3 separate regions of the Homo sapiens genome follow, and regions 1 and 2 are each linked to region 3. The links are contacts of gene promoters, found by promoter capture Hi-C in human tissues and cell types (Jung and others, 2019). All regions are on one chromosome and are shown on one strand. Each heading gives the region's core, a stretch centred on a gene start or on the middle of the fragment in contact. The rest is flanking DNA. Distances are from core to core; before and after follow the strand shown. Region 1 has its middle 6.9 kb from the start of ZNF707. Region 2 overlaps ZC3H3 (zinc finger CCCH-type containing 3). Region 3 holds the start of EEF1D (eukaryotic translation elongation factor 1 delta).

The links. The method cuts DNA at HindIII sites, captures the fragments that hold promoters and counts their contacts. A contact is called where the count stands out against the background at its distance.
Region 1: a contact is called between a fragment that was not itself captured here and the fragment with the promoter of EEF1D in region 3, in 11 of the 25 tissues and cell types used here (H1 embryonic stem cells, dorsolateral prefrontal cortex, heart left ventricle and 8 more).
Region 2: a fragment that was not itself captured here is called in contact with the fragment with the promoter of EEF1D in region 3 in 3 of the 25 tissues and cell types used here (H1 embryonic stem cells, mesendoderm cells and thymus).

What each region holds. Positions count from the first base shown.
Region 1 is chr8:143,675,885-143,679,206 of GRCh38, forward strand. No RefSeq gene overlaps it. Among named protein-coding and RNA genes, the nearest start is that of ZNF707, 6.9 kb to the right of the region's middle. The HindIII fragment of the contact is 5,591 bases long and covers 1-3,322 here.
Region 2 is chr8:143,483,328-143,486,708 of GRCh38, forward strand. The region is part of intron 4 of ZC3H3 (zinc finger CCCH-type containing 3); the gene reads right to left. Among named protein-coding and RNA genes, the nearest start is that of SNORD149, 21 kb to the right of the region's middle. The HindIII fragment of the contact is 3,349 bases long and covers 448-3,381 here.
Region 3 is chr8:143,595,653-143,598,827 of GRCh38, forward strand. It overlaps EEF1D (eukaryotic translation elongation factor 1 delta), which reads right to left and starts at 1,763. Exons shown (of 10, transcript NM_001130053.5): 1 at 1,696-1,763. TIGD5 (tigger transposable element derived 5) reads left to right here and starts at 2,179. Exons shown (of 1, transcript NM_032862.5): 1 at 2,179-3,175. The coding sequence starts at 2,252. RefSeq lists an enhancer at 411-1,010. The HindIII fragment of the contact is 45,525 bases long and covers 1-3,175 here.

The DNA.
Region 1 (3,322 bases), core at 603-3,102, 80 kb after region 3:
TCGAGAGCTTATCAATCAGTCAGCCCTTGTTCATCCCTGTGCGGATGTGTGGTGGTATTGTGGTGGACCTTTACTGGGCACTCTGCTGAATAACTGGAATGGCACTTGTGCTTTAGTCCGTTTGGCTATCCCTTTCACCCTGGCATTTCATCAACCAGAGGGAGAAAAAATAAGACGTCATAAAGCGAGAGAAGCCCCTTATGGGTCTTTCAACTCTCACGTCTATTTGGATGCAGTTGGGGCCCCTCAAGGAACACCAGATCAATTAAAGCTTGAAATCAAATAGCTATAGGATTTACGTCAATATTTTAGTAGGTGACAGTTAATAAAAGTGTAGATTAGATAAACTACATCTATTACAACCAACAGCAACAAGCTTTTCATGAGTTAAAAGAAAAACTCCTGTTGGCCCCAGCCCTGAGTCTACCTGACGTGACAAAACCTTTTACACTCTATGTGTCAGAAAGAGAAAAAATGGCATTTGGAGTTTTAACCTAGACTGTGGGGCCCTGGCTAAGGGCAGTGGCCTATCTCTCTAAACAACTATAGGGGGTTTCCAAAGCCTGGCCCCCGTGTCTAAGGGCCCCGGCAGCAACGGCCCTGTTAGCACAAGAAGCAGATAAACTAACTCTTGGACAAAACCTGAATATAAAGGCCCCCCATGCTGTGGTAACTTTGATGAATCCCAAAGGACATCATTGGCTAACAAATGCTAGATTAACCAAGTACCAAAGCTTGCTGTGTGAAAATCCCCACATAACCACTGCAGTTTGCAACACCCTAAACCCCAGCACCTTGCTCCCGGTATCGGGGAGCCCAGTTGAACATAACTGTGTAGAGGTGTTGGACTCAGTTTATTCTAGCAGGCGCAACCTCCGAGACCATCCTTGAACATCAGTAGACTGTGAGCAGTACGTGGATAGCAGCAGCTTCGCCAACCCCTGCAAAGTGACTCTGAGGAAGACGACAAGCCCTGCTCCAGTCACGCCCAGAAGCTGACTGGTCCATGCACGGCCGAAGCATGAGGAAACTCATCGCAGGACTCGTTTTCCTTAAAATTTGGACTTGTACAGTAAGGACTTCAACTCACCCTCCTCAGACTGAGGACTGTTCCTAGTGTATACATCAAGTCACTGAGGGAGGACAAAATGTTGCTACAGTCCCATTATTTTACGGTTATTATAAGTGTACTGGAACTCTAAAAAGAACTTGTTTGTATAATGTTATTCTATACAAGGTATGTGCCCAGGAAATGACCAACCTGATGTGTGTTATGACCCATCTGAGCCTCCCATGACCACAGTTTTTCAAATAAGATTAAGAATTAAAGACTGGTGGGGGCTCATAAACAATATGAGTAAAGTGTTAGCCAAAAAAAACAAACAAAAAGAGGTGCCCAAACAAGTCACCTTGAAGTGTGATGCCTGTGCTGTCATTAATACTAATAAGTTAGGAATAGGATGTGGTTCTCTTCATTAGGAAAGAGGCTGTATGGCAGAAAATAAGTACATTTATCATGAGTTAGGACTGTGTGGAAATGAATGTAGTTACTGGTCTTGTGTCATTTAGGCTACTTGGATAAAAAATGAAAAAAATTCTGTCCACCTTCAGAAAAGGAAAAGTGGCCCTTCCTATACCAGTGGTCAGTGTAACCCCTTAGAACTAGTAATAACCAACCCCCTTAATCCTCGCTGGAAAAAAAGGAAATGTGTAACCCTAGAATTTTTTTTTTTTTTTGAGATGGAGTCTCGGTCTGTCACCCAGGCTGGAGTGCAGTGGAGCGATCTCGGCTCACTGCGAGCTCTGCCTCCCGGGTTCACGCCATTCTCCTGCCTCAGCCTCCTGAGTAGCTGGGACTACAGGTGCCCGCCACCACACCCGGCTAATTTTTTGTATTTTTAGTAGAGATGGGGTTTCACCGTGTTAGCCAGGATGGTCTCGATCTCCTGACCTCGTGATCCGCCCGCCTCTGCCTCCCAAAGTGCTGGGATTACAGGCGTGAGCTACCGTGCCCGGCCATAACCCTAGAAATTCATGGGGCTGGACTGGATCTTCAAGTAAATATTGTGGTTTGAGGAGAAGTTTATAAACGCTCTCCTGAGCCAGTATTTCAAACCTTCTATGATGAACTGAATGTGCCAGCACCAGAAATTCCAGGAAAAATAAGAAATTTGTTTGCAATTAGCTGACCATGTAGCCCAGTCTCTCAATGTCACTTCATGCTATGTGTGTGGAGGAACTATAATAAAAGACCAATGGCCACGGGAAGCCCAAGAATTAGTACCTACAGACCCAGTTCCTGACGAATTCCTGGCTCAGAAAAATCACCCTGATAACTTCCGGGTCCTAAAAGCCTCAATCACTAGACAATACTGTATAGCAAGAGTAAGGGGCCGGGCGCGGTGGCTCACGCCTGTAATCCCAGCACTTTGGGAGGCCGAGGCGGGCGGATCACAAGGTCAGGAGATGGAGACCATCCTGGCTAACACGGTGAAACCCCGTCTCTACTAAAAATATAAAAAATTAGCCAGGCGTGGTGGCGGGCGCCTGTAGTCCCAGCTGCTCGGGAGGCTGAGGCAGGAGAATGGCGTGAACCCGGGAGGCAGAGCTTGTAGTGAGCTGAGATCACGCCACTGCACTCCAGCCTGGGTGACAGAGCAAGACTCCGTCTCAAAAAAAAAAAAAAAAAAAAAAGAGTAAGGAAGGACTTCACCCTTCCTGTAGGACGACTCAGCTGCCTTAGGCAAAAACTGTATAATGGTACTACAAAAACAGCCACCTAGTGGAGTTCAAACCATACTAAGAAAAATCCATTTAGTAAATTCCCAAAGTTGCAAACCGTGTGGACCCATCCGGAGTCCCACCGAGACTGGACAGCCCCCACTGGATTATACTGAATGTGTGGGCATAGGCCTTACACCAAATTACCCGACCAGTGGGCAGGCAGTTGTGTGATTGGCACTATTAAACCATCTTTCTTCCTACTGCCTATAAAGACAGGTGAACTCCTGGGCTTCCCTATGTTTCCCGCGAAAAGAGAAGCATAGCTATAAAAAAATAAGAAAGATAATAAATGGCCCCCTGAGAGAATGATGGAATATTATAGGCCTGCTACTTGGGCACAAGATGGCTTGTGGGGATACCGGACCCCCATCTACATGCTCAACCAAATCATACGGTTACAAGCTGTCTTAGAAATAATCACTAATAGGACCGGCAGAGCCTTGACTATTCTGGCCCGGCAAGAAACTCAGATGAGAAATGCTATCTATCAAAATAAATTGACTCTCGACTACTTGCTAGCAGCTGAAGGAGAAGTCTG
Region 2 (3,381 bases), core at 872-3,371, 110 kb before region 3:
CTCCCTCCCGGTTTCTCCTGGTGCTGAGCCACTGCGGCCCCCGAATGGGTTGGCCAGGCTACATGGGGCCCTTGGCTGGAGAGGCCCAGCCCGTGAGGCTGGGGCAATGCAGGGGAGGTGGTTCTACTGGACAGACACTCACAGAATGTCCTGAGTTCCGGAGGAGGAAGACAGAGTCCCTCATGGGAGGGGCCCAAGCTGGGCCGGCAGGGAGGGGCGCTCAGGCCAGACAGAGCAGAGGCGTGCAGTGGGGGTGCTAGGCGGGCTCCCGGCTCCTGGACCCTGCCCCCACGATCTCAGGGGCAGGGCTAAATGCTCAAGGGCCTGTGGCTGCCAGGGCTGAAATCTGACTACGTGGTGGCCACGCAGGCCTCACGATGGCTATGGCCACCTCATCTCACAGAAAGAACCCTCTTCTAACTTACTCCTCACAAGTCTGGCCCCCTATCCTCCAAACCCCTATACCCAGACCGTGGGGCCCTCACCAGCTCCAAGGGGCCTCCAGGTACCTGGGGCAGTAGCTGCTGTTCAGCAGGGGCTCCGGCACCATGGCCAGATGGGCTCTCTAGTCCCGCTGTCACCCCCACAGCATCTACCTCCCAGTATGGGGGCCTGCAGAGACCGTCCAGCCGCTTGGCTTTCCAGGATACACCTTCAGCAGGCAGGCAGGGTTACAGGCCTGGGTGGGAGCTGAGAGCCCTGCACCAGCGGCCAGGGGCGCCATGAGGGGAAAGAGCCATGCAGCCTTAGGGACAGCAGCCTTGTTTGGGGGCCCCTGAGGACAGGGACAGCCTTGAGTGCGACTGGTCCAGCTGAGGCTGAGCACGGCTGGCTCCCCCGGCCCCTGGGCTGACTCGTGGGGTGGAGGCTCTGTTGTGACATCTGAGGACTTCCTCACTGGGCACTGGTCCTTCCGAGGGCCATCCCTGCCCCGTCTCACCCCAGTAATGAATAAGAAGGATTCGGAGGCGCCTCTGCAGCCTGGCTGGGTGGCAGGGGGCAATACTAATGACACTGCCTCCGTTACAAACGTCGTGCTCCATTATGAGGGGCTGGGACTATTTTATGTATTTTATGTGCTCACATCTATTCAATTGGTATTTCGATCAATGGATGCATTACAAGCTTTCCCTTTAAGAGCCTAATAAACAACAAGATGGAAAGTAAAATTCTCCATAAAATGACACTTTTAAAAATCCATTTCAGCTGAAGCTATTGGTGTTTTGTATGTCAGCTGCAAAAAAACAAGTATTAGTGGGACTTCATGGCCCCGGAGTGCCGAGTTCAGCTCGTCCGGCAGAGGTGCCAGGCGGCCAGGTGCAGCTGTCCTTGGCGGGCCCGCGACCCTCTGCACCTGTGCCACCCTTTGGGCTGGGTCATCGGCCCAGGACCCACTCTGTCTGTGCCAGCTACTGAGGGGCAGGCTGGCCAGGAATCCTGCCTAGGCCCTCAAGGACCCCTCAGGTCACTGCTGTCTAAAGAGACTCACAGCAGACATCCCCCCACTCCCAGGCCCTGGGACAGCCCCTCCGAAGACCACACAGCAAATCCGGCTCAGCTCCCTGGAAAGGCGTGGTGACCTCAGCAAACTTCATGCGGCCCTTGCAAGGACAGTGGTATCTGCAAAAACCACGGGAAAACCACAATAAAAACCCACTCACTTCAGAGGGGTAACCAGAACTGATTATGAAGCAAAGATGTGTGAAAACCAAAGCCCTGCAAGACAGTGGCAAACACCAGTTGGAACATACAAAGAAGAGAAGCCAGAAACACTCTCAAATAACTGAGGAAAAATTCTACAGCAGGGGCGCCGGGCCAACATGTGGAAGTTATGGAGCATGAGTCCCCCTGGTGCTGAGAACAGGAGGGAGGCAGGCGGGGCCAGGGATCTGAAGTGTTTGTTGTGTGTGTGGCTGAAATCCTAAGAAGAAGAAAATGCAAATCTATGATTTGGAGGCTGGTTCCTTGGTGAGGCCGAGAACCCGGTCCAGTGTTTCTAAGGTGGTCTGGAAGAGTAAGCATTCAGGAATAACGAAGGGCACAGACAAGTGGGTCAACAGTGAGGATGGAGAGTCTGGGAACAGCCCATACATCTGCTCACCCGAGTGACGCAGGCGCCCCTGCACCTGAGTGGGTCAGGATCTCATTTCAATACATGTGTCTCCATGGGGAGACAAAAGGACTCTGGCCCCTACCTCAGACCACAGGTAAAAATTAATTCAAGAAGCCTCAGGCTTAAAATATAAAAGCTAAAATAGCCAAGCTTCTAGAAGAAAACATGAATGTGGGATAGACAAATATTTCTTAAACAGGACACAAAGAGCACTACTCATAAAAGGCTAAAAAACCAGATGCCGTGGAAGAGCAGGTCCCTCGCTGTAAGCAGACGTGTGGGGCGGAAAACATCCACAACAAAAACAAACTCCCACAAATCAGCCAAAAGGCAAATCACACAAAAACAGGCCAACACCCAAAGAGGCCCTTTACAGTAAAGAAGGGCACCACCAGGAGACCTGAGTGAAGAAAAAGATGCCCAGCAATGCCAGCCAGCGGGATGGGCGTGAGGCCCCACACCCCCCAGCATGGCAAGAACAGGAGACACGGGCCTGAGAATCCTGGCCAAGGCCACGGGCCAGCCACAATGCTCACATGCTGCTGCTGGCAGGCTGGGACAGCTACCTGGGACAGCTTCCAAAGCTCAGTGTCCATCACCCTCTGAGGCAGCAACTCCACACAAACGAGGGCTACCAGCACCCAGAGACACACCCAAGACAGCAGCTTCATAACTGGCAAGGATGGGAGAGACTCCAGATACCCACCCATCAACTGCAAGATGGACACACATGGCGTATCCATATCACAGAACACCACACGGCAGGGAAAAAGAATGAGTTCCCGCCAGGCGCGGCAATGTAGCGGAGTGAGAAACGTGGGCGCCTACGGCTGCCTGGCTGCTGCCATGGAATGCTCTGCAGTGGGCGGCTACGACAACAGAAACACACTTTCTCACAAGGCTGGGGCCGCACCGAGGCTCTGGCAAGGCTGGTTTCTGGTGAGGTCTCCCTTCCTGGCTTGTACTGTCCTCCCGTGGCTTTTCCTCTGGGCATGTGCCCCTGGTGGCACTTTTTATTCTTGTAAGGACATTAGTCCTAGTGGATCAGGGCCAAACACGTATAATCCCATTTAACCTCAATTACCTGTTTGAAGACCCCATCCCCAAACGTAGTCACATTGGGGGTTAGGGTTTCCATCTATGAACTTGGTGGGGGACACAATTCAGTCCATGAAAAGTGATGAACAAAAGAAGTCAGACACAGAATGGCACCCGCTACATGACCCCACCACCAAGAAGCTCACACACAAAACAGCACCTGCTCCACA
Region 3 (3,175 bases), core at 513-3,012:
CCTGCCCCAGGCCAAGCCCCGCCCCAACCACGTCTTTTCTTAAATGCCACTGCAGGCCAGCTCCATGGCCAGCCCTGCTTGAGGGGCTCTGGCCGACCTGCCTGCCCGGCGCAGCCCCTGTGCCTCCTGGGTGACTCCAGCACGGCACAGGCTTTCTGGAACCCCAGACAATACCCACGCCACACCTCACACGGCACCCTTGGCTGTCAGCGAGGTGGGAGAGCTGGAGACCTGTGGCAGGCTCCTACACCAGCACTTAGCATAACTCACTGCCACCAGCTTCCAACACGCTGATGTCACCTTAACACACTGGCACAGGATGATGACCCACAAATCCTCAATGCCACATTTCCTGTCCTCAGCCCCCAGAAGGCTGACGCCAGTGCACGGCACAGCCCAGGTACTCTTTGTCCATCATCAAGCACGTGTGCCCACCTGTGCTAAACCTTGCAGCCTCACCCAGCAACCCGGGAGCAAAGCCCAGAGGGCCTAGTCCTCCAGAGGAGGCGGGAGGCAGCGGGGGCTCTGTCGGCTGGGCGCTCACTCTGCCAGCACTGACTGCGTGTGAACCCTGCAGCAGCCCAGGGGAGATGCTGCTGTCTCACAGGATTGGCACTGCGCCCAGAAAGCCTCTACAGAGGCAGGTCTAGGAGCCTGGCTGGGCCTGAGGCATGTGGTGAGAAGGCGAAGGTGAGCGTCTACTTCCTCAGAGGACGCTCGGGGGCTCCTTCCACACCTGCCCAGCCCCTCAGCTGCATCCCCCACCCCCAGAACGGGGCTGGGCACACACGGGCTCCGGAAGTAACCAACTGCCTGCGAGCCAGCTGCTTAAGGCTCATGGGGTCCAGATGACGGGGTGGGCGGAGCTGTAGAAGGAGGCTGCTCAGGTGAGATGGCCTGGCCTGCCTCCCTGGGAGGTGAGCCGCAGGCAGTGTCAACTTAAGAAGCACCCCGCCCTGTCGGGCAGGGACAACCCCAAGTTTAGCTACACAGTTCTTCTGCTGCCAGGCGGTCCTTCATTCTGGAAACCAATCCTGACGTCTCATCAGGTCCCCAACCCACTCCGCCCCCTTTGCCTTCTTCCTTCCACTTAAAGCCTCTGAAAGTACTACTTCTTAGCAACAGCATCCCCGCCCCCTTCAGAGACTGCCCGACCACCCTATCCAAATCAAGAGACAGAAATTTTGACCCAGTCACAGTACAGGCTTATTCCTTTCCGTGCTCACTAGCGTCTAAGTTCCAAAAGTGTTGCGTCCGTGCCTATCCCCTCCGTGCTCAGCTGATGCGTGCAGTAACTGGTGCTTGACAAAGACGTGGTGTACGAAGGTCTGCAGGCCAGAGAAACAGCTGGGGCAGATGTCTGGTCTCCCACGGAGACGGCAGCAAACACAGGCCTTAGGCCCCAGCAGCCTGGCCGAGGGGCTTCCACGACCGGGATGCGCCGTGAGACAGTGCTCCCGGCGCCCCCGTCCCGCGGACGCCCTCCAAGCCGGCCACGTGGCCTCCGTCGCCCCGCCTCTCTGCGCTCGCCCCAAGTGCCGCACTTGGCCCACGGCCCCTAAGCCCGCGCTGGCGCACTTGTGCCTCAGTCCCTAACGGCGCGAGCTTCTGGCGCAGCCCGGGCCGCCCGCCCTCCCGGCCCCTCGGGCGTCTCTGTCGCGCCCGACTCCTTCCGGCGGGGGCCGCGGTACTCACACGCCAGCCAAGGACGCGGCGACCAAGGAGGAGGAATCGGCGGACGCGGGAAGACTGATGAAAGGGAGGGCCGCCCGGGCCGCGCACGGGAAATGAAGCACTGGGCTCTACCAAGAGCCACGGGCCGGGGGCCCGGGGGGGGGACGCGACCCTTGCACACGCCCCGCCTGGCCGCCAGGACCCTCGACGCGCCGTGCCCCGACACTTCAAAGGCAGAATTCCGTTGGAGATGACCGCGGAGGCCGCTCTTCCCCGGAGGAGTCTGCACAAGTGCTGGGAACGGGCGGCAGCGCGCGCGCCCCCCCTGCGCTTCGCGGCCAGTGGTGTCGCCGGTGGGGGCGGGTCCGGCAGCCGGCAAGCGCCGAGTGACGCACGAGGCGGCCAGCGCGCAGGCGCGGGGCGGGGCCGGGCCGGGCTAGGTCAGCGCGCGTGCGCCCGCCAAGCTGCGGGACAAAGGGGAGGGACCCGTGCGGCCCCGCCCCCGAGTGCCCCGCCCCGAGCGGCTGGGCGTGTGGCTCCCGCGACCCGCGCGGCCCGGGTCCCCCCCGCCGCAGCCATGTACCCCGCGGGCCCCCCGGCCGGCCCGGTACCGCGCCGCGGCCGCCGTCCCCTGCCCGGGCCCCCCGCGCCCGCCCCAGCCCCCGTCCCCGCTGCACGGCCGCCGCCCCCCGCGCCCGGGCCGCGGCCCCGCGTGGCCGTGAAGATGGCCTTCCGCAAGGCCTACTCCATCAAGGACAAGCTGCAGGCCATCGAGCGCGTCAAGGGCGGCGAGCGGCAGGCCAGTGTGTGCCGCGACTTCGGCGTGCCGGGCGGGACGCTGCGCGGCTGGCTCAAGGACGAGCCCAAGCTGCGCTGGTTCCTGGAGCAGCTGGGCGGTGAGGTGGGCACTCAGCGCAAGAAGATGCGGCTGGCCAACGAGGAGGAGATCGACCGCGCCGTGTACGCCTGGTTCCTGGCGCTGCGCCAGCACGGGGTGCCGCTGTCTGGCCCGCTCATCCAGGCGCAGGCCGAGGCCTTCGCGCGCCAGATCTACGGGCCCGAGTGCACCTTCAAGGCCAGCCACGGCTGGTTCTGGCGCTGGCAGAAGCGCCACGGCATCTCCAGCCAGCGCTTCTACGGCGAGGCCGGGCCCCCAGCCCCGAGCCCCGCGCCCGGCCCGCCCGTCAAGGAGGAGCCCGCGCTGCCCTCCGGCGCCGGCCCCCTGCCCGACCGCGCCCCGGCCCCGCCGCCCCCGGCCGAGGGCGGCTACGGGGACGAGCAGATTTACAGCGCCAGCGTCACCGGCCTCTACTGGAAGCTGCTTCCGGAGCAGGCTGCGCCCCCGGGCGCAGGGGACCCCGGGGCGGGGGGCTGTGGCCGGCGCTGGCGGGGCGACCGCGTAACGGTGCTGCTGGCCGCAAACCTGACCGGCAGCCACAAGCTGAAGCCGCTGGTCATCGGGCGGCTGCCGGACCCGCCCAGCCTGCGCCACCACAACCAG